Linked DNA regions of Homo sapiens: regions 2, 3, 4, 5 and 6 are each linked to region 1. The links are contacts of gene promoters, found by promoter capture Hi-C in human tissues and cell types (Jung and others, 2019). All regions are on one chromosome and are shown on one strand. The core of a region is centred on a gene start or on the middle of the fragment in contact, and the rest is flanking DNA. Distances in the headings are between cores, read along the strand shown. Region 1 holds the start of GPC6 (glypican 6). Region 2 overlaps GPC6 (glypican 6). Region 3 has its middle 87 kb from the start of LINC00363. Region 4 overlaps GPC6 (glypican 6). Region 5 has its middle 140 kb from the start of LINC00363. Region 6 overlaps GPC6 (glypican 6).

Region 1 (3,952 bases), core at 219-2,718:
CCCGCCCCACATCTGAAACAGGCAGCCCGTGAAGTCCCCAAACCAGCCTTGAAACGCCGGCGTCCAGAGGCCAGGTCCCCGGCGAGGGTCCCTCCCAGCCTTGCCCGCCCCCGGCCCGAGCGCCGGGCGCTCTGTCGCCCGAAGGACGGATAGGGGAGAGAGGGGCTGGGGGAGCCCTCCGCGTCTCTCCACCGCCCCTGCCGGCGCAAGGGCGGGAGTGGAGAAGGCGCCACTCAGACTGTGGCGCTGGGCAAACTGCGGTCGCAGTTCTTCCAAGTTTGCCCGAACCAGAACGCGGAGTGAGCGCCCGGCTCGGCTCTCCGTCTGCGCCTTGCAGCCGCCCCGGAGTGACCCGGGCTCCCTGGCCAGCCGGGCCTGAGCCATCAACTAAGGGGTAGAAGGGCGCGAGAGCAGCGGGAGGCGGGAGCCAGGGTGCTCCCGCGTGTGCACACAATGAGGCGGCGGAGACGCACACCTTCCCCCGCCGAAGAAGCCGCAGGAGCATCCGCCGCCCAACACGGAGACGCGGAGTCCCATAGCGGTGGCAGAAAGTGAGCACCAACTCAGCAACAGGGGGAAGGAAGGGGACGCCGGGCGGCCAGTGGGACGTGCGGCAGCCGAGGGCTGCAGCCTGCCCCTGCAGCGCGCCCGCGCTTACCTGCGATCTCCTGGTAGGGGATGTCCGCCAGGCTGAATCCCTTGGCACCGTACGCCTGGCGGACCTCTCCGCAGCTCCGAGCCTTCACATCCGCCCCGGCGGGGAGGGAGAGCAGCAGCCCCAAGAGGGGAAGAATCACAGCCCCGATCCAAGAAGGCATGGTGCAACATACAAATCCAGCTCGGTAAACCCCACGGCCGGTGCGCTCTTCACCTTGCCCCTCAAGCCGAAAGCCCGCCAGAGGCAGCGGCGCGCTCCTCGCCGCTGCCCAGCGTCACCCCCTTCTGCCAGCCGAGGGGACGAGCAGCGCAGCCCTCTGGACTGCGCTCAGCAAACTTTTATAAGCCAGATGGACGATGGCAAGCCAACAAGGGCTGGCTGGGAAGGCTGCTGCCTTGCTCCTCTAGCCCCCAGATGGAAACGGTGCAATCAAAACGAGGAAGAGAAGGAAAAGAAGTGTTTAAAAAACCACCATGGGGGTTCAGAGCTGCAATCCGAGTTCCGAGCCGCAGAATCCTGGAGCGCTGCGGGCTCGGCTCGCCGGAGTGTGCGGCAAAGGTGGGAGCGCGCGCCGGCTCCCCCGGGAGGGAGATGGACAAGCGAGAGCGAGTGTGTATGCGCGCGTGTGTCTGTTGGTGTGAGCTCGAGGTTCTTGGGGATGTGTGTGCGTGGAGGTATGTGTTGGGGATATACGAGATCTAGGGGAAACCTCAGCTTAACACAGGCTGTGGGAGCCTGTGAGAGTCCTCCTGAAATAGGAAGAGAGAAATCCTGGAGACAGTCACTGGAGGCAAGAGGGAAGGAGAAAGGAGGGGGGAGAAAGAAACGTGCTACACATTGCACAGCCGAAATTCACAGGCCGAGTCAAAGGCAAAACCTGGACTGGATCTCTTCCTAGTCGGTAGAAAGGGGAAAAAAAGAAAAAGAAACGTACCTATTTTCTTATTCACTTCACATCCTTTATACCGATCTGAAATGACATCAATAAACAATCTAGAAAGACAAGGTAATTTTAAGTCATTAACATGTTATTAAGCTGTATTTTTATGGAGGTAAAGGATAACGCAGTTCCAATTGTTGCTCTTAATATGTGTCCCTGACCTACTGAAACACAAAGCCAGAGTGGAAATAGTCATAGACGGGAGTTCATGGGTGGCAGAGCACAATCACGGCTCTAACTAGTTGCCTAATTTCTGTTTGACTTTGTTTTTTTCTAAAGGCACACATTACAGACTGGTAGTTCTTAATTTTTAAAGGTTTGGTTCTAGACTCAACAATTTCCCCTTTTTTTATTTCAAATATCTCATAGCCTTCGATCAGAAATCATTATGCTTAGGTTTCTAATGTGTGGAGGATCGGGAAAGCTAACAACCAGACCACAGAAGCAACAAGAAAAGGAGAGCACAAGGGTCAGAGGTGCATAAAGGGACATAATGGGGGAAGGGAGGTGATTCCTTCCCTCTCACTAGATGCCCTCACATAGTAGACTTAACATTTTCTTCCAAGTTAACATAATTCTCAAGTGGAGAATCAATCCAATTTCTTCTTCCTGTCTCCATTTACACTGATGTTCTGTGAACGGGATAAAAGTGAAAATTCAGGTTTGCCTAATTGACTTTGTTATGCTAATGGACGCACTAAAGTCAGCTGGCAGAAGTGTGTGTTGAAACCCAGAGCTCCTGAAACTACTAAGATAGTTTAATGAAAACCAAGACAAAATAATAATAATAATAGTGTTTATTCACTTACGTGGCTATGTGTCATAGGTCAGCACATTATTCACAAACTACTACAAGGTAATGCACAGTTTTGTGGAGCTCACCTATGAAGCTACACATGAAGATGTTTTCCTGATGATGATATGAATGACCAGAATGACTCATGAAGTTTAAATCTTTGAGTTTGTCATTATCATCACAACATATTAGGTACATTGTCTTCCTCTCTTTAATAAATTCCCCCTCTCCTAACCACCAAAAAGACTCTCAAGATTCAACCTCATTTAACCTTTCCAAACGCTTTAAAAATGAAGTCGACTTATTTACAGAGCCACTTTGTCTTCTTCAAACTCATAGGTCAAGACAAAACAAAACCAAAAAAAAAAAAAACAAAACAAAACAAAAAAAAAAACTCCATAGCTAAATCTTTCTGAAAACGCAACACACTTAACTTTTTTTCTCTTAAAATTTTAGCACAGTTTTTTGCTTTCACAATATTTATGCTAACTGGCAGATCTTAAATCACTGAACTTATTTTCCCTCAAGTCGGAAATCAAGATAAAATATATTCTGGTTATGTTTGTGGACAAACGGTGAGGTTGATAGGCTCAGGAATTGCAGTCAAGTTATTACTTCTGTCATATTTGACAACGTGACTTCCTTCAAACTTCTCTTTGTATCATAGTAAAGCATTATGCACTCCAGAGGAAGAGGGTAAAAACACACACTTCCTGTCCTACCACCTTATCCTGGGACTCATTGTAATTTACCCTGACTCAGTATAGCAGATAATTCATTATTTTAAATGGAGGTAAAGGAAGAATGGGTAAAAGCATAGTATATGTGGTTTTAAATTATTTGAAGATCAGCTAATTGTTAAGTATTGAATGAGCACTCAATACAACTTTATAGCACTAGACTATTGCACACCGTCCCTATACTTATAAAATGATCTTAGGATTTGTGGCAAAGATATTACATGAGACGAATGACTAAATAGATTAGTTTAATTCCATCAGGAGAGTCAAATAGTTTAGGGTAGGTTTGTGAACTCAAGTCAGACCAAAGAATTAGATAACTTGCTTTACTGGTGACCTTAACCCTGCCTGGTCCATTTGTTGAGTAATGTCACACTGTTTGCAGTGGTGTAAGAGACAAAGTCAAACATTCCAGTTAACACTGAGAGCCACAGCAGGAGCCTAGACAAGGGATTGGAATGAGAATGGAATGTTATGGAAGTTCCTGGAAGAGGCCTGACCAGACAGGAGAGAGGTCATATGGAGGAGCAGGCATCTGGTTTAGACAAAAAGGTCAGCTAATGGCTGGAATCCTAGCTGTAGTATTCATCTTGTGTGTAGTAGGAAAAAAGAATATGGATAAATGCCATACAAGAGGAAGCAAACGAGGCCAGGCACGGTGGCTCATGCCTATAATCCCAGCACTTTGGAAGGCCGAGGCAGGCAGATCACCTGAGGTCGGGAGTTTGAGACGAGCTTGACCAACATGGAGAAACCCCGTCTCTACTGAAGATACAAAATTAGCTGGGCGTGCTGGCACGTGCCTGTAATCTCAGCTC
Region 2 (3,921 bases), core at 1,049-3,548, 330 kb before region 1:
TATTACAAGCGCACTCTTTGCTAGACTTATGCTAGGCTTTTTATGTATATCGTAGTTTCAAAACAGGTATTATTATACTTATTTTACAAATGAAAAACTAAATTTTTTTCCCAGAGAGTTTAAGAAACTTACAAGATCATTTTGTCAATACAACGCACCTCCTATACTTGAAACACATTCTGTGAAGATCCAAGGCCTGTGCTATTTACATGGCTAAAATTTTTCTAAATAAAACTTGACATAATGTCATAGATAAAGACCCTTCCCCAACTATGGAGAATGAATGAAGAAAAGACTGTAGACTGTTTAAGGCATCTAGAATCTACATGGGAAAAAATAAGAAATGCCTAATTTAGAATTAGAAAGCAGAAAAATAATCTCAGCCATTGGAAGAAAAAAAATACCAATACATTTTGGGAATGTGGCTAGTAATTTAAAAATATATAAAACTTATATTAGTTAAAACTGGCCCCCAAACTTCTTCAGTTTCAGAATACGTTTTGGAGTTCTATGCGCCAGACAGAAGCTAAGTCGTGGAACTAACAGAAGGTTTTCACTGATTGCTAATCTGCTATTTGTAGGGGGACTTGGAACCCTCAAGGGCTGAAGATATTCTTAGAAGCTACTTCTCTTAGTAAAAGGTTTTCAGCCACTGCCCAGAGAATGAGAACAAGCCTGGCTGGTCTAATGATCAAGGGAACAAAGTCAGTAAACCTTGGACTAGTGGTCAAGAAGAACATTTTAAACAGTTCTTATTGTATGTTTTTATCTTCCTTAAATCTCTACTTTGCTTAAATCATTACTTAATGGAAGAATTTACGTAAGTACTTCCTTAACCTATTTTTTTTAACATCAATCATAATATATTACACAGATCTTCAGATTTATATTGCTGTAGGCTTCTACTTGTACTCTAAATAGAGACAACCAACTCAATTATGGAAAAAGCAGTCCGAAGTTGTACTGACAAAATATCATAAAGTATGTGTGGAGGGAATATTATACCCAGAAAATAGGAAATTCCCTCATGCTCACAGAGACTGTATTCTACTTTTCATTTTATAATTATAAACTATTTAACACAGGAATTAAGACTTCCAATTTATTTTATTTTTTCAGAAGTTATTTGAATAAAGTTTCATGACACCAAATATTAATAATTTTACATTACATCCTTATCCCAGATTCCTTAGAGATCAGGCACTTTTCCTTCAATTAGGCATAAAGTCATTTTAATCCTTTAACACATTAAAGTTAAATTATACAAGTTTTCTACAATAACCATACCTTATGTTTGAATCAAAGTGTGCTATGAAAAAATATAGTTACACAATGGAGTACTATTCAGCCACAAAAAGAATGAGATCCAGTCATTTGCAATAATATGGATGGAACTGAAGATCATTATGTTCAGTGAAATAAGCCAGGCGCAGAAAGACAAACATCATATGTTCTCATTCATTTGTAGGATCTAAAAATAAATACAATTGAACTCATGGACACAGTAGAAGGGTGGTTACCAGAGGTTGGGAAGGGGAGTGACGGGCAGCGAGTGAGTGGTGGAGAGGTGGGGCTGGCTAACAGGTTAAAAAAAAAATTATTATAGAAAGAATAAATAAAACCTATTATTTGATAGCACAACAGAGTGACTATAGTCAACTGTAACTTAACTGTATATTTTAAAATAACTTACAGTGTAACTGGACTGCCTGTAACTCAAAGAATAAATGCTTGAGGGGATGGATACTCCATTCTCCATGATGTGCTTATTTCACACTGCATGCCTGTATCAAAACATCTCATGTACCCCCAAAATATATATATATATATATATATATACATATACATACATACACACACACACACACACACACTATTTACCCACAAAAATTAAAAATAAAAAAATAAAATAAGATACTGCGCTTCAAAACATATCATCCTAGCAAAAAAAAGTAACCCAAAAATTAAAAAGTATTTTACCAATTGTGAAAAATAAACACACATTAGGTCCTTATGAACTAGAAAATAAATGGAAAAAGGATAATAATTGTGTAGTTCATAAACTTAAAAATGCAAAAATCCACAGTATACATCTGCAAAAGTTAAAATGAGTTGTTGATCTTGGGTATAATTGTATAATTCACTGTCAAAATTGAAAAGAAAAAGGGGTAACTTAGTTAACATATAAAAGTCATTATTTGACGGGCAACAGGTTCTTGAATGCCACCTTAGATATGGAGGCCTGTTACTGGCTGACCTTAATATGTCAGAAGAAAGATTCAAAAACTTCTGTCAAATTTCTTTGCCCCAGCTCTACATCCTGCTAACTAACCTCTCAATTCCACGTAAGCCAGTGTTAAGTGTGGTGGAGCAGAGAACACTCGCTTCAGAACAGGAGATCCTTTCTGAGTTCAGTCCAGACCAAAGAATGGTCATCTCTGGTGTTGAACCCAGCAATCTGTATATTAACTGATTCTCCAGGAAATTCATGGACATCTTAAACATTTCTTATTCACGCCTGTGTGTGTGACTGTGCATATGTGCATACTTGCAATGGAGAAAAACACGTTTATCCTGTTTTTTATGATAAGAACCTCTACTTGCTTTACTCTAAGTAAAGGCACTCTTTGTCCGGGGAATTTAAAATTAGTTCCATTAAATCCACTGGAACCAATGCTGCTGATATCACATATGAATTCCAGGTTTATGGACCCTAAGAGTTAATGGATAATGAGAATTCAAGGTTCCCTATTTTCTTCTGTCATAATTATTATAGGAATATAAGTAATTCATTTAACTGGTCTGTGCCCTTGAGACTGCACAGGTTGCTACCATTGTCACACAACACTGCAGCATTATTAAATATACTTCATATTAAGTCAGGTATAGGAAGATAAAATAGAAAGAGGAGACCTAATCTCTGAACTTAATGAGCTTAGACTTCAACAGGGAATATGCAATGGATCATAGTTTTTAGAAGAATACTATTACAAGAACATTAAATAAGTGAAAATGATAAAATGTCAACTCTAGAAGCATTAAGGAGAAAGAGACAGGAAGACTGAGAGAACTAAATCCTGTAATGACCACAGAACTATTCTTTCAAAAGGAGAAAACATGCAAATAAATTTTAAAAAATAAAACAAAATACGTGGAGAAATCCAATTTCTTCCAACATTCAAAGGCCTTGGAGCCCCGATTTCCTGCTATCTTACTTCAAAGTTTGCTTTTCATGTTCAAGTCGTTTATATTCTACTGGACTGCTAGGAAGGGAGGAAACAGTGTGAAGACTGTAAACTACTATATATAGTTTTCCCAAGAATATTTGTTCGTTTAATGAATATAGCAAACCTTTTGCAAGAATAACAAATGGCACATTCTGAAACTGTGATGAGTGATTTTTAAAAATTTATCTGAGCACTGTGGACCATGCACAGTTATTCTTAGCTGGGCACTGGTTCTTCCTTCACATTTGGGTTCAGGATCCTGTTCTTGTCTAAGGGAATGCTTGGAATGACAGAAAACGGCTTAGGCCAGCTACCTCTTTTTTTACATTTGCTAAAATGCCAAACCCCAGGAGCTCATGTCAATGTTGGTCATTCAGTGAAAAATCACCGAGTGACTACTGAATGATATGGAAATGTTATTTGTAATGCATTTGATAATAAACACTTTACACTGTCATTTGAATCTTGCCAAAGTTCGGGTTTGGATATTTTCCTTATTTTGATGTCCATATGGCTTACAAACAAAAGTTTAACAAATTCAATCACACTTACCAAGGAGATTTAAAGATTAAGCCTCATTTTAACAGGCCTGTTCATGTGGATAGATTAGAGATGTCATTTCCAGCGCAATAATAATAGAATATTGGATGGGAGCATAAGCTAAGTAGCCTGGAATTGAGTCAAAATCCTATAG
Region 3 (3,687 bases), core at 1,129-3,628, 270 kb after region 1:
ATACAGAAGTCAAGAATTGAGGTTTGGGAACCTCCGTGTAGATTTCAGAGGATGCGTGGAAATGCCTGTCTGTCCAGGTAGAAGTTTGCTGCAGGGGCAGGGCCCTCATGGAAAACCTCTGCTAGGGCAGTATGGAAGGATAAAGTGGGGTTAGAGCCCCCACACAGAGTCACTACTGCGGCACTGCCTAGTGGAGCTGCGAGAAGAGAGTCACCATCCTCCAGACTCCAGAATGGTAGATCCACCGACGGCTTGCACCGTGCATCTGAAAAAGCCTCAGAGACTCAACATCAGCTTGTAAAAGCAGCCAGCAGGGGGACTGCACCGTGCACAGCCACAGAGTGGAGTTGCCCAAGACCATGGGAACCCACCTCTTACATTAGCATAACCTGGATGCAAGACACGGAGTCAAAAAAGATCATTTTGGAGCTTTGAGATTTGCCTGTCCTGTGGGATTTCAGACTTACATGGGGCCTGTAGCCCCTTCATTTTGGCAAATTTCTCCCATTTGGAATGGGTATATTTACCCAATGCCTGTATCCCCATTGTATCTAAGAAGTAACTAATTTGCTTTAGAATTTACACTCTCATAAGCAGAACAGACTTGTCTCAGATGAGACTTTGGATTGTGGACTTTTGAGTTAATGCTGAAATGAGTTAACTCTTTTGGGGGACTATTGAGAAGACACAGTTGGTTTTGAAATGTGAGGACATGATATTTGGGAGGGGCCAGAGGTGGTATGATTTGGTTTGGCTGTGTCGCTGTCCAAATCTCACCTTGAATTGTAATAATCCCTACATGTTATGGAGGAACCTGATGGGAGGTAACTGAATTATGTTGGTGGGTTTTTCCCATGCTGCTCTCGTGATAGTGAATAAATCTCATGAGATCTGATGGTTTTATAAAGGGGAGTTCCCCTGCACATGCCCTCTTTCCTGCCACCATGTAAGACATGACTTGCTCTTCCTTTGCCTTCTCCCATGACTGTGAGGCCTCCCCAGCCATGCTGAACTGTGAGTCCATTAAACCTCTTTCCTTTATGTATTACCCAGTTTTAGGTATGTCTTTATTAGCACTGTGAGAACAGACTAATATAATAAGATTACAAGGTCAGATTGAACATTCAGTACTATTTACTATTCAGAGATTATAAGCATAAATTCATAGGTCAGCTGAGCATTTTTGCTGATCTGGGCCAGGTTTGGCAGATTTTAAATTAACTCTTTTAGGCATTTGTGCTCAGCAGCACGCAGAGAGGATAGACAGCTTTGCTGTTTATTGACTAGGTATTTTCACATGTCTATGGCCTTCACTGGCAAAATTAGATGAGGCTAGACTAATTAGATGAGAGAAAGAAATAAATAACATCCAAATTGAAAAGGAAGAAGTCAAATTAGCCCATTTGCAGGCAACATGATCTTATACCTAGAAAGACCTAAATTCTCCACCAAAAAGCTGTTAGAACTGAAAAACAAATTCAGTAAAGTTGCATGATGCAAAATTATCATACAGAAATCATTACCATTTGTATACGCCAACAGCAAGCAATCTGAAAAAGAAATAAAGAAAGCAAACCCATTTATAATAACTACAAAAAATGTAAAATATCTGGGAACCAATCTTACCTAAGAAGAGAAAGATCTATACAAGGTAAACTATAAAACTCTGATGAAGGAAATAGAAAAGGACACCAAAAAAAAATGGAAAGATATTCTATGCTTATGGATTGGAAAAATTATTATTGTTAGAATGACAATATTACTCAAAGCAATTTACAGATTCAATGCAATCCCTATCAGAATGCCACTGACATTCTTCATGGAAATAGGAAAAAAATTCTAAGATTTATATGAAACTGTTAGGGGTGGAAGGTACCTGAGTTACTGGCAGTGAATCCAGTAACTCAGGTCTGCAGCAACCTCAATTCTTCCCTCCTCAGAAGAAACAATTTGACTGAGGGGCATAAGGCAGAAAAAGAGACTAAGGGAAGTTTTACAGCAGGTGTGGAAGTTCATTTAAAAGCTTTAGAGCAGGAAAGAAAGGAAAGTACACTTGGAAGAGACCCAAGTGGGCACTGTGAAGATCAAGTGTGGCATTTAACCTTGATCTTAGGACTTTATATGCTGGCCCACTTTTGGTGTCTTGTGCCTCTTTCCCATGATTCTTCCCTTAGGGTGGGCTGCCCGCATGTGCAGTGTCCTCCTTACACTTGGGAAGTGAGCATGAGCAGTGTGTTTAGGAAGTTGTATGCATGCCCATCTGAGGCTTTCTTCCCTTTTCAGGTGGAATGCTCCCAAAAAGATCATACTCCCCCATTTTGTCTCTTAATGCTCATGCCCAGGCTCACTTCCCAATACTTGAGATTTTATTACCGATTTCAAGTGTTTTTATTTATTTGGGAAGTTGATTCTCCCTGGTCCCTGCATTCAATGAACACTTTAATGTGACAGCTGTGGGCCACCAGGAGATTGTCTCTCCCTGGTGCTAGCAGCCAAATTATCATTTTTAGAGAGGCAATGTGATAACTGCCAAACCATACTGATGATCGCCTGACTTTCCTGGTGGGTGGGGAAAGAGCTCTCTCCTGTTCTGCTTATGCCTGTCTAACTACCTGTAACGAAATCACAAAAGACCCTGAATAGCCAAAGTAATCTTGAGCAAAAAAAACCCCAAAGCTGGAGGCATCACACTACCTCATTCCAAAATGTACTACAAAGCTGTAGTAAGCCAAACAGCAAAGTGCTGGCATAAAAACACACACATAGACCAACGGAACGAAATAGAGAACCCACATATAAATCCATGCATTTACCAACGACTCACCTTTGACAAAGATCAAAACGTACAATGGCTGAAGGACAATTTTGTTGATGAGTGGTACTTGGAAAATTGGATAACCATATGCAGAAGAATGAAACTAGACCCCAAGTTCTCACCATACAGAAAAATCAAATCAAAATGGACTAGAGGCTTGGATCTAAGACCTGAAAATATAAAACTCATAGAAGAAAACTCTGGGGAAATGCTCCAGGACATGATGTAGATTGTGCAAGGTTTTTTGAGGCTTAGAATAGGGATGTGCATAACTTCATTTCCTCTGCATTTTGTAGGCTTAAGGCTAGTTTGGATTTATTGGGTGGAGAAATAGAATAAGCTTGCTGATGGGAGCTGGTGCAAAGTCACATTGAAAAGGAGAATGGGTAGAATGAAGACAGTAATTGTGGCCACTATTACAATCTACTATAGTCATTGATCAAATTGAGTTTGATTTCTAGTGGGAGGAGATTGATGAGTCTGCAGACATGAAAGCAAGGAAACAGGCAAATAAATAAAGAGGCAAAGTAATATAGGCTGTAATAAGTGAAATAAAAAAATAAAGCTTTGGGCAAACGGCATTCTAGGCAGAGGGAACGCACATATGCAAGTTTTCAGTTGGAATGTACTTGCAGGTTTGAATACAAAAAGTTAGTGCATCTGGAGTGTGGTGATCCAAGGAAGGGAATGGTAGGTGAGATGTGATCATACAGGGCCTTGAAAGACAAAATACCACAGAGTTGTTATTGGATTCTAAGCATTAGAGGTTTTTCATCAGGGAGGATATCTCTTCTAAGTTAAACCCTACTTTGAGGTTTCAACATTGTAGATATCCTTAAATAAACTTTATAATTAAAAATATTTCCTAAGTA
Region 4 (3,654 bases), core at 400-2,899, 370 kb before region 1:
AGAACACCTGTAGGTTAACATGGAAGGAGCTACTAGGTAGATGAATTGAATTTGCTATGCAGACATTTGTGAAATACTCTTTCTCTTAAGCCCATCCTCCATTTCTCCTTCCTCTGTTTATACTCCTATGAGGATTATTTTTTAAATGGACAGGAGTGATTAGAAAAAGCTGCTAACTACGCTTATACTTTAAATTAAGCTAACCCTCATTTTGGCATTTTCATTTTTATCAATCAAAGATAAAAAACAGTAACAGTGAAAAAAATAAAACCTTATGAAGACATTCTTTATCTTCACTACATGGGGCTGGGGAGCTATTTCCCTCTCTGCTTCCCCCCTCCTAAGGCCATCTGTGACCCTACAAGCTGCCATTATAACCTACAAATAACTCAGGCAGGACCATGTAATGGCTTCTTCTTGAACTCACTCCTTTTCCACATTTTTTAGACAAATCACAGAAGCCAGATCATAAAGAGTAAGCAGAATGTAGTGACTTCAATTCCAACGGGCCCTGAAAATGCTCTCAAATTTCATGCTTCCCTGATCAGCTTTATTTATAAGAAAACAGATCTCTATAAGCAAATAGTTGGATTTGAGCTGCCAACAAATCTCAGCAACGTTACTTTTGGTCACTTTATAAAGATTCTGATGTCTCTTTTTTTTTTTTTTTACCAATATTTGGCAGTTTCTAAGTAATATCTCAAAATGAAGCTTGAAAAATCAATAAAATATGTATATCTATAAATAGTTCAGGGACCCATTTTTCCAAAGTGCACGTATATTCAGCAAAGATTGCTGGAAGGTATCAAGGAACTTTTCGGTATAATTTCAATAATTGTAAACACAATCAAAACGAAATCACAGTTTAACCTTATATGTTCTCATGATGATTCTTTGCACTCAAAGATTTCTAAAGCTTTCAAGATTTTTGAAAATTTCTAAGTAAGTGTATGAAGAGTAGAACTGTTGCAAATTGAGGTGTCTCAGACACAGTGGTGACCAAAAATTATGGTGACTTCAGAATCTCAATGTTTATTCTTCATTGGTGAGAAAAAGAAATGGGAACCATATCAAAAACAAAATAACAGAAAGCTATTAACATCTACAGTTTTGAGTCATTAAAATATCAGATTAATTTCATCCTATTTGAATTAGCATTTACTTGTATTAAGGAAAATACAAATGGGTGGCTGGCTGCCAGTTCAGTAGTGGCAATATGGGAAAATCATAGAATTTTGCAGTCATGAGACTTAGTTTAGCTCTGCTGCTGAAAGCTTTATGATTTTTTTTAAGTCACATTTGCTTTAAGCCTCACTTTTCTGCATCTCAAAAGTAGGTTTAATAATGCCATATTCAACCACATAAAATTGCTGCTTTTGTGACTCCACAATGGTCAAATATCAGCAATTTCATATAATTCACCCCATACCTCACTGAATGATCAAATGTGACAATGTACGTGAAAATACTCATTAAGTGAAAGGCTAATGGAAACTTAATGTGAAGGCACTCACTTGAAATTAAAGTTGTACTAATTCACCTGAGTCCCATCTCTTAGTTGAATGTAAAGAGGAAGAAGAGTAACAAAGTGAAAGATTTCTAAGGTGGAGATGGTTTGAAAACAGGACACATCCTAAGTATTCATAACAGAGACATCATGATATGCACAGAAACAAGCCTGGACTCGATGTGTTAACATCACCATTAAGTTTTATAATTGACCCTTGAATACTGTGGGGGTTAGAGATGCCAACCACTTACACAGTAAAAAATCCACATATAACTTTTTTATTTATTATTATTATTATTATTTTGAGATGGAGTCTCGCTCTGTTGCCAGGCTGGAGTGCAGTGGCACGATCTCAGCTCACTGCAACCTCTGCCTCCCGGGTTCAAGTGATTCTCCTGCCTCAGCCCCCTGAGTAGCTGGGACTACAGGTGTGCAACACCGCACCAAGATAATATTTGTATTTTTAGTAGAGATGGGGTTTCACCATGTTGGACAGGATGGTCTCGATCTCCTGACCTCCTGGTCCGCCTGCCTCGGCCTCCCAAAGTGCTTGGATTACAGGTGTGAGCCACCGCGCCCAGCCCACATATAACTTTTGACTCCCCAGAAGCATAACTATTAAAACCCTACTGCTGACTAGAAGCCTTACTGATAAGACGAACAATCAACACTTTTTAAAATTATATGTACTATATTTTCACAATACAGTGAGCTAGAGAAAAGAAATGTTATTACACAAATTATAGAAAAAGAAAATATATTACTTATTCATGAAGTGGAAGTGGACAGTCATAAAGGTCTTCACGCTGAGGAGGCTAAGGAGAGGCAAGAAGAGGGGGTTGGTCTTGCGGTCTTACAGGTGGCAGAGGTGGAAGAAAATTGGTGTTTGAGTGAACCTCTGCAGTTCAAACATATGTTGCTCAAGGGTCAACTGTAATTCATAAATGTTTGACTTCTCAAAGGTAGATGGAAGGGGGCCCAGGTTCCAGTCAGACAGCTCCCTCACCTTCTTAGTTCTTTCAGCTATCCTATCTAATAGAGATGTATTATGACATTTACAGTGCTAATGTGTAACTTCACACCACCATAGGGAAAGGCAGCCTTGAGGAGATTTTATCTGTGGCATTCACTAGGGTCTGCTCTGATATCTCTATAATGATGCTCTGTGATGGTTCATGTGATGTGTCAACTTGATTAGGACATAGTGTGCCTATGCCTTTGATCCAACATTATTCTGGATTTGTCTATGAGAGCTTTTCTGGATGAGACAAACATTTGAAGGAATAGATTGAGTACAGGAGATTCCCCTTTCTAATACGGGTTGGCTCCATCTACCAGTGGAAGGCCTAGATAGAACCATAAGAGGGAATTCCTACTGCCTGACTACTTGAGCTGAAACACTAGTCTTTTCTTTTCTTTTTTTTTTTTTTTTTTTTTTTGCCAGATTTGAACTAAAATATAAGTTCTTCTTGGGTCTCAAGGCTGCTAGCTTTTGTTTTGGAACCATACCATCAGCTTTCCTGGGTCTCCAGCCTACCAACTGCAGATCTTGGCACTTCTTAGGCTCCATAATCACACGAGCCAATTCTTCATTATAAATTTTATATATATACAGGCACACGTAATTATATATATTTATACACACATCTATATGTATGTACCTGTGTATGTGTGTATATATACACATATACATATATACACATATATATATGCATATACACTTATATATGTGTATACACACTTATATATACTTATATACACACTTATATAAGTGTATACACACTTATATATGCATATACACACATATACATTATATATATATATATATATATATATTTATTTATTTATTTATTTATTTCACATCCTTTTGGTTCTGTTCCCCTGGAGAAACTTGTCTAATACATTACTTCAAAGTATAAGAATCAACATTACGTTGTCGAGGATCAACATGGTGTTGGCACTGCCCTTCTCCTTAAATAGTCGGAGAGTGTATCTCCTGTATGATACCAACCCAAATACTAGCTGATACTATGGAATCACTCAATATTCCCCCTAACTCGTCTCATTCCTCCTGCCTGGCCAATTCTCTGAATAGCACTTGCTCTCACCTCCTTGGTCCTTATTCCTTCTTTGCTCTGTATCCT
Region 5 (4,015 bases), core at 916-3,415, 320 kb after region 1:
ATCGCTTGAACCTGGGAGGCAGAGGTTGCAATGAGCCGAGATTGCTCCACTACACTCCAGCCTGGGCAACAGAGTAAGATTCCATCTCAAAAGAAAAAAAAAAGTCAGATCAATTAAGAATAATAAAAATACAAAAATCATTTTACCTTCATCTGTTTATTCAATAATGCTTTTTTCTGTATTGATGCATACTTCTGAATTACATTTTTTCTGAAGAATTTTTAACATTTCTTGCTAGATAAATGTGCTGGTGACAAATTCTGTCAATTTTCATTTGAGACCTTTTTTTCTCTTTCATTTTTGAGGAATAATTTTCCTGGATGCAGATTTTTAGGCTAGTTGCTTTTTTTCCTTAAAAACTTTAAATATTTCATTCCACTCTCTTCTAGCTCGCATGGTTTCTGAAGAGACGTCCAGTATAATTCTTATCTTTGTTCGTCTCCCAATAAGATGTATTTTTTCCTCTGGCTTCTCTTAAAATTTTGCTTTGTCTTTGATTTTCTATATTTTGAACATGGTAAACATAGATGTAATTTTTTTGTTTTCCTGTTTGGTGTTTGTGATTCTAGGGTCTGTCATTTGGTATGTGTAATTAATTTTGGAAAATTCTCAATCGTTATTATTATAAATTATTCTTCGCTCCTTTCCCACATTCCCCTCCTTCTGGTATCTCTATGTATGTTCCACCTTTTGTAGTAGTCCTACAGTTTTTTAGATAGCTACTAAGTTTTTTTTTAAATTCTTTTTTCTCTTTATTTTTCAGTGGGAAGTTGCTGTTGACAAATCTTCAAGCTCTCTGATTCTTTCTTTAGTCATGTTCATTCTGCTAATGAACCCTTCAAATACCTTCTTCATTTCTGTTATAGTGTTTTTGATTTCTAGCAATTTTTTTCTTAGTGTTTTTTTTAATCTCTCTGCTTACATTACCCATCTGTTGTTGATTGTTATCCACTTTTTCATTAGAGGCATTAGCGTATTATTCATAGTTATTTTAAATTATCAGTGGCAATTTCAAAGTCTCTTCCATGTCTGCGTATTTTTCTGATCTTTGCTTTTTCTCTTCACACTGTGTTTTTGGCCTTTTAGCATGCCTCACAATTTTTTGTTGTTGTTGAAAGCTGGATATGATGTATAGAATAAGGTACTTAAGTAAATAGGCCTTTGTTTTGAAGTTTTATGTTACCTGGCTAGAAGTATAGGTCTGTTTACTCTTGACTGTGGCTGTACTGTCAGAGACTAAAGTTTCCTCTCGGATCCTTGTTTTTTTATCTCCATTGCTGTCTTTGGCTTTCCCTAGAGATTCCTTCTTAAGTAGTGTCTTATACTTTCAGCTCTTTCAGCTGTAATCCTGTTATTATTCAGTAGCCCTATTGATGTGGTGGTAAGTCATGGAAAGCAGGAAGTGTTTTATAATCCTTTGATTAGGTTTCAATGTTTTAGCGAGGCTGGGTACTTGGGATGTGACCTTCTCAAGTGCTTCTCAGCTCCTACCTTCACTCCCTTGGATGGGGCAGAAAGGCTAGAAGGGGCTGGAGTTGAGCACTTTCGTTCTTTCACTTCAAAGACTAGATGGGACTGGAGCTTAGGTATTTTCTTTCCTGAGGTCAATTTGGGTATGGAAAAACCCAAATGGGTTAAGCTCTGGTAAAATAGTTTTCCTTAAGGAAAGGCCTTTTTTAAGTGTAAGACAAAGCTTTGGGCATATGACACAATGGTTACTTTTTACCTCCCCCTAACTAAAGTATTAGGGGACTTTTCTCTTTACAGTGAGAGCCTGCTGGGGTTCTCATGGAACCTCATGGAAATATGGGTACTCCCCTGAGACTGGGTCCCCAGAAATGTTTCTCTCTCAAGCCAGTCCATGTTCAGTTGCCAGCCATTAGTCAATTGAAATTATTCTTCCCAGTTGCTCCTCCAGCAAGGCTTCTACTCCAAGTAAAATATGATTCTCTATATTTGCCCATCTCTCCAAATTTGGGTCAGAGGTTTGCTCTGTGACCTGAATATTCTGATGGATCTAAAAATTGTTGGGTTTTGGTTCATTCCACTTGAAAAAAAAATTATGAGGATGGGAGTGAGGACTTCGAAGCTCTTTGCATGTCTGGCCAGAAGCTGGTATATTCTATTAATTTTTGTAAACATTATCTTTAAAAAAAGGTAGTAGTCTGGCATATGTGTTTATTTCTAGTTCTTTTGTTTCCCAGTTATTTTATGCTTTTGTTTACACAAATAATTCCTTTTAAATAATGATTTGACAGTAGGTGTCCATAAGTGATAGGAATTTAAACATTGCCTTTTTAATGTCAAGGGATGTCCCTTCTAAATTAAATACAGATTAGGTTCATTTAATTGAATGTACTTAAAATTTTTTTCTTTGATATTTTACATGCATGTAGGCCTACATATAAAAGATTCCTGCTTCAGATACTAACTGAATCTTTTTCCTATCAAGTAACTTTCAGATATTTCTACATAGGTAAATATCTAATAAAACTGGGAAGGAAAAAGAATCCCATGAGAAAAAAAATTCTTATGAATAACTTCTCTCAATGAACATCTTTATCAATTATATTGTTTCATTTATGACGCAATTTCTCTCTTTTATGGAAACTAATATTTGTAGTGTTTTGGCAAATAGAATTTCCTCTGAAATGATTGGTGTTGATGCTCTGGAAAAATCAGATTTTCTTTTAATTAGGACTTCTTTGTAAATTAATAGTAAAGTAGTATGACCTCTTTAAAAATCTAGACACCAAAGTCTTATCTATTGAACCACTTTTTTTTTTCCATACAACAATGCATATTTCCAAACTGCTAAAGTAATTGTATTAGAGCACAGTGGAAAATCTAAGTTATAAATGAGGTACATGGAGCCAACATCATCATCACTCTTTAGGGATGAAAGCACATATGGAAACACTTCATGGATTCATTAAATACCAATCTGAAATAACATGACATCAATATTGGTAGCTTGAAAATGGTAACATCTGACAGATGGCAACCAATTAGAGCAATTAGCAATTAACTTGTGTGTCTGTGTCCCACCTTCATCCTCCTTCACTTGCTTCATGAATTTCTACCATCCTGGATATGTTCCGGAGATTCAGTCTCTACTACAGACCATTGGGATAATACATTTTGGTCAATTATTGAAAATGAATTTAGAGAGAAAGAGCATGTCACTCTTCATCACGGATTCAAAATATGACTATTCTTTTTAGGTAAAATGTAATTTAAAATAAACCCATAGACCATTGTTTTATAGGGCAAAAAGGAATGCTAAGAAAAATTAAGCCACAACATTTTTTTGAAACATTTATGTATTGACATATAAATAGGCTTTTACTATACTGGTGGCCCTCTAATATAGTTCAATTCAAAAAACACTTTGAAAAATATTTTTCCTAAAAGTCTAAATATATAATCATGCACATTACAGCCAAAAAAAGCCTCAAAGAACAAACAACTAAGAAATAAAAACAAATATAAAACTCTTGTGATGTTTACCTTGTTATTAAATAAACTAAGAAATAAAAACAAATATAAAACTCTTGTGATGTTTACCTTGTTATTAAATAATTACATAAAATAATTATTCTTTGTATATATTCACATATTTGATTCACTTGCCATGTGTCTAATACCAGGCCAATGGTATTTTTCTGCAGAATATATTTTATAAAGTAATCTTTAATTAAAAATCTTTTTAAAAGTTGTATTTTATGTGTCATAAAACTCATTTGAGAAATATTTTCAAGATAAAACTTATCAAATAAAATGCCTCAAATTATTATTTGTATTCACCAGTTTTAGATGTTGCAAAGATGGGGAATCTCTCATTTGAATTTGTGTAATAAATATACATTTATATAATTCTGAATAAGATTTCTAATAAAAGATTATTCCCACAAGATAATATATTAAAAACGTAGACTTTAGGGAAGACTCCTTTTGTTTAATAATTAGATTAAGTATTTCCAACTGATTTTGGACAAAATGAGAACAAAATTTA
Region 6 (3,900 bases), core at 850-3,349, 390 kb before region 1:
AAACAAAATGGCCCATAAGCTTATCATAGAATGTTATTTTCCAACTCCCATAAATACATAGTACCTAGCTACAAAAATATATATTGAAACTTGGGATTCCAGAAGACAGCTTTATTTTCTTATACATAAAATGAGAGAATTAAACCCAGTGATTTTCAAATTGCAGAGCACAGAGTTTCATGTATGTGTGTCCGAGGGGGCTTCTTAACATCCTCAGAAAGCTTCTGAGCTACCATGCAGATGGGTCTGCTCAACCTGCTCTGATCAGAAAAATGTTGCTTTATCTATTTAAGTTATATCTCTCTCTTCATTGCTTTCAACACGTATTTGTTGAGCAGTCATTGTACTAAGAGCTTTTCTAGCTGCCAGAAATAGAGAGATGAATGAGGCAGACAAAGGCTCCATTACAGAGTTTAAAGAGTTAATTCTAGATTTACACAACTAAATAAAGAAACTGGAAAACTCCTGGGCTATATATCTAATATTCCTTCTAATTATAAATTTCCTTTAAGTAACAATTGAATAGCAATTATTTGGCAAATCATTAGCAATGGGGAAGTTGTATCACTAAGATCTTCAACAGGATTTTTTCTCCTCTTTGTCTTCCTATCATCATCCTCAATATTACTCCAGTAACCTCTGTGCTCTTCTGGTGTGGCCTAAATATAACTTTAATTCTGGCATGCCTTTCAAACAGTTCCAGTTCTGAACCTAAGATTATTACAATGTTTTTAAAGGTAATGTAGTTTAAAGGAGGTTAAAACATTCAATCCATCTTAGGAGAAAAAACAAACTGTAAAGTATGAAACCTGACAATGATGTGTTATTTCCTTTTGGTTAAGTGATCACACACTAGAGGATATCATAGGCATTTTAGTAAAGTTAATCATTACTTATAATTCAAAAAAAAGGAGCACGTCAATGGTGTTGAATGTTCATAACTAGCTCTACATACCTCATAAATGTGTTCACAGATTGGTTGTGGGAATTGTTTGTGTTTCTTTAATCTATGGGTATTCATAAAACATTATTTTAAGGCAACACTTGCTACTTCAAGAAATGACTGATATATTATTTAGGATGGTTCTTGCCTGAGCATTTTTTAGTTACATTGTAAGGGACCTTCTAACATTGTGTTATTAACAGGAAGGAGTTTTTCTTACCCTCTGTGTAACCTGTTTCTTTGACTCTTGCAAATCCAGAGAAAGTATTTAATCATCTAATTGGAACCCTAAACAATGAAACTAAGTTGATTTTTCTACCAGATGTGTTTTACCCCGAATGTAAAGTTTTAAGGTGATTGTTTCTGTTGAAAAAACAAACTGGTATCAATGATCTAATCGCACATATTGTAAGAGATGAACAACTTCCCTTTGAATGGTAAAGACTGTGAATTTCATAATTTCTCATCTCCAATAAATTTCCATTAAAGTATTCGTACATCCTCTGTTCCCCAAAATTTCATTATAGTCTTCCTATTTATATTCTGAATTACATAACAATTCAATTTTTTATTTTGAATGTGCTAGTTAGCTGTATTTGTTCTTTAAAAGGAAAAATGAGAATAGAATAGCCTTTCTGAGAGGGATTTTAATACAAATTCTTACCTATTTCCCCAAACAGTGAAAGTAGGACAGACTAAAGAGACAAATTGTTTAGGTAAAGAAAAGCAATTAAAACACATATGTATTCTTAAATACGTACAAGTACATATTTACATTGAGAGAATCCTTCTTCAAATACTTAGGTATACAAATGAAGAAATCAGGATTTCACTGCCTCCCAATTTGTAATTCTTGTTTTAGTTTAGTTACTACTGAGTGAGCAGTATGTGCCAGGCACTACACATTATCCATGTTAGCTCATGTAGTCATTGCAACAGACATATTAAGTATTTTCAGAGAGTTTTAGAATTTTTAGTATCTGAGTTTGGCGATTGGAATTGATAAATGAAAAAGCTTAGAGAGAAAGTGAGGGGACACTGTGGAACCAAGGCCAAGTCTGTACTCACAACACCCCAGTAACATTTACAGCTCATACAACACATCTTGTAAATGGGTAGATTGAGGTCCTTATTCACAAAAAGTTGTTCTAGAAATTTCAAGGAAAATGCCATGTGAATAAATAGTTCAGGTGTTTTCTTTTCCAGGATAACTATGTTGATGCGTGATCTATGTGAAAGCGTTTGTGTGGCTGCTGCCCAAATAGCCCATTAACAACTGAATAGGTAGGACAAAGGAGGAAAAGGCATGATAGATGTGGTTGATACATAAACTGCCTGGCATCAGTTACCTTTTTCACTGAATATCTATTAAAAATGTAATAAGAAAATCATGGCATGAATCCTCTCGACAAAAGGGATAAACAAAAACAAACAGATGTTGCAATTCAGAATTTCTTAATAGGATCAAGTAATTTTATAACAGGAAGAGACACTGACTTTGGACAAAGTTATGTTAATTTTAAAATTCTTTGATAATTCATATAATTGTTATTTGTAAATAAAATGATTCTCAGTAGTTTTGAAAGAAAACCTGGTTAGGGTTAAATTCTAGGAAGTATACCAACCAAATTCCACCACAGGAAACTTTTATTGGTCTACACTGATTTCTTAGAAAGTAAACTTTTGAGAAAAAATTTAAAGAAAACAAAAATTGTACAATATTATTAAACATCTGAATCTTTGTTCTGTTTCAGCTGGAGTCTGCACTTGGAAATGTGTGAGGAATCCAGGACCTTATTCATACCCATGATATCATGATGGCTAATACATTAAATTGTACATAGTAAGTAATGATATAAATAGAAAGCAGATCATCAACCCAAGTATACTCAGAGGAAAAAAAAAGCAATGAGCAAGATAAAAAATAAAACAAATAGGACAAGATTCCTCACTCCATTTAGGAACATATTCTGTCTTTGCTAAATATTTTAACTTTCTAAACAAAACGTGTTATGCTTGAATGGTGTATTTTTCTTTACTTTTCAGTATTTTACTAAGAGATCTTCTATAGCACCCTTTCCTTTTGGGTAAATAAATAAAAGATAAATATCAAACAATTATATAATTTGAAAAAAATATAGGGGGATTGATAATACTATACTGTTTTAGTTACTATTTGGGGACTTTGGCTATAGCTATTTCATATTAACAAAAACCACATCTCACATTGACTGAGCTCATGCTTACTATGTACCAGCCATGGTTTCTTCACTTCATTTAATCGTCACCGCCACCCAAGGAGCTAGTTACTATTACTACACCTGATTTGCAGATGAGAAAACAGAGATACATAGAAGTAAAGTAATTTGCCCTTCCATGTGGTAGAGGAGTCTGCACCTAGACATCTGTAAACCCATGTTCTTAACCATTCAACGACATTGACCATATTAACTTTACCTGAATTCTTTTGGGATACATACATCAAAATGTATACAGATATAACAGAAAGTCTTCTCTGATGGTATAATACTACATTTTATGGCCTAGCGTATTGTCATTTAGTTTAAAAATTTTTTTTGAGGAGTAATACACAGTGATTCACTGTATCTAGAAAAATAACATTTATGTTAACATGGTAGTAGAGAATAGTGAGCTTCTGACATGGTTTCCGATAATTTGCTGTCTAATCAAAACATATTTGAGGAGAAAATAAAGTCTATTCCTCCTTGAACATAAATGTACAGTGAGACTGACAGCTTTACAGCATTTGAGGTTTTTGGCCACAGTAACTGCCAAATCAGATTGATGTGTGACCTAGTCAATTGCCCACCAATTGTTCTAAATTGACTGGAATCCAGGCAATTTCTAAATTTTATGGGCCACCATGAAAAGAAACATCATTTCTGCATCCTACTGTAGACTAAGGAACAAAGCCCACATTTTAGGGAGGACTGGCC

Evidence for each region. Contacts are between HindIII fragments. The study calls those that stand out against the background at their distance.
Region 2: a contact is called between a fragment that was not itself captured here and the fragment with the promoter of GPC6 in region 1, in 1 of the 25 tissues and cell types used here (mesenchymal stem cells).
Region 3: a contact is called between a fragment that was not itself captured here and the fragment with the promoter of GPC6 in region 1, in 2 of the 25 tissues and cell types used here (aorta and heart right ventricle).
Region 4: a contact is called between a fragment that was not itself captured here and the fragment with the promoter of GPC6 in region 1, in 1 of the 25 tissues and cell types used here (mesenchymal stem cells).
Region 5: a contact is called between a fragment that was not itself captured here and the fragment with the promoter of GPC6 in region 1, in 2 of the 25 tissues and cell types used here (IMR-90 fibroblasts and mesenchymal stem cells).
Region 6: a contact is called between a fragment that was not itself captured here and the fragment with the promoter of GPC6 in region 1, in 2 of the 25 tissues and cell types used here (aorta and dorsolateral prefrontal cortex).

The regions. Positions count from the first base shown.
Region 1 is chr13:93,224,323-93,228,274 of GRCh38, reverse strand. GPC6 (glypican 6) reads right to left here and starts at 1,468. Exons shown (of 9, transcript NM_005708.5): 1 at 659-1,468. The coding sequence starts at 818. RefSeq lists enhancers at 33-875, 3,282-3,952. The HindIII fragment of the contact is 15,285 bases long and covers 1-3,952 here.
Region 2 is chr13:93,554,327-93,558,247 of GRCh38, reverse strand. All of the region lies in intron 2 of GPC6 (glypican 6), which reads right to left. Among named protein-coding and RNA genes, the nearest start is that of GPC6-AS2, 300 kb to the left of the region's middle. The HindIII fragment of the contact is 9,916 bases long and covers 1-3,921 here.
Region 3 is chr13:92,956,548-92,960,234 of GRCh38, reverse strand. No RefSeq gene overlaps it. Among named protein-coding and RNA genes, the nearest start is that of LINC00363, 87 kb to the left of the region's middle. The HindIII fragment of the contact is 5,357 bases long and covers 1-3,687 here.
Region 4 is chr13:93,596,303-93,599,956 of GRCh38, reverse strand. The region is part of intron 2 of GPC6 (glypican 6); the gene reads right to left. Among named protein-coding and RNA genes, the nearest start is that of GPC6-AS2, 260 kb to the left of the region's middle. The HindIII fragment of the contact is 3,659 bases long and covers 1-3,478 here.
Region 5 is chr13:92,902,876-92,906,890 of GRCh38, reverse strand. No RefSeq gene overlaps it. Among named protein-coding and RNA genes, the nearest start is that of LINC00363, 140 kb to the left of the region's middle. The HindIII fragment of the contact is 5,647 bases long and covers 1-4,015 here.
Region 6 is chr13:93,613,842-93,617,741 of GRCh38, reverse strand. The region is part of intron 2 of GPC6 (glypican 6); the gene reads right to left. Among named protein-coding and RNA genes, the nearest start is that of GPC6-AS2, 240 kb to the left of the region's middle. RefSeq lists an enhancer at 1,935-2,439. The HindIII fragment of the contact is 3,957 bases long and covers 121-3,900 here.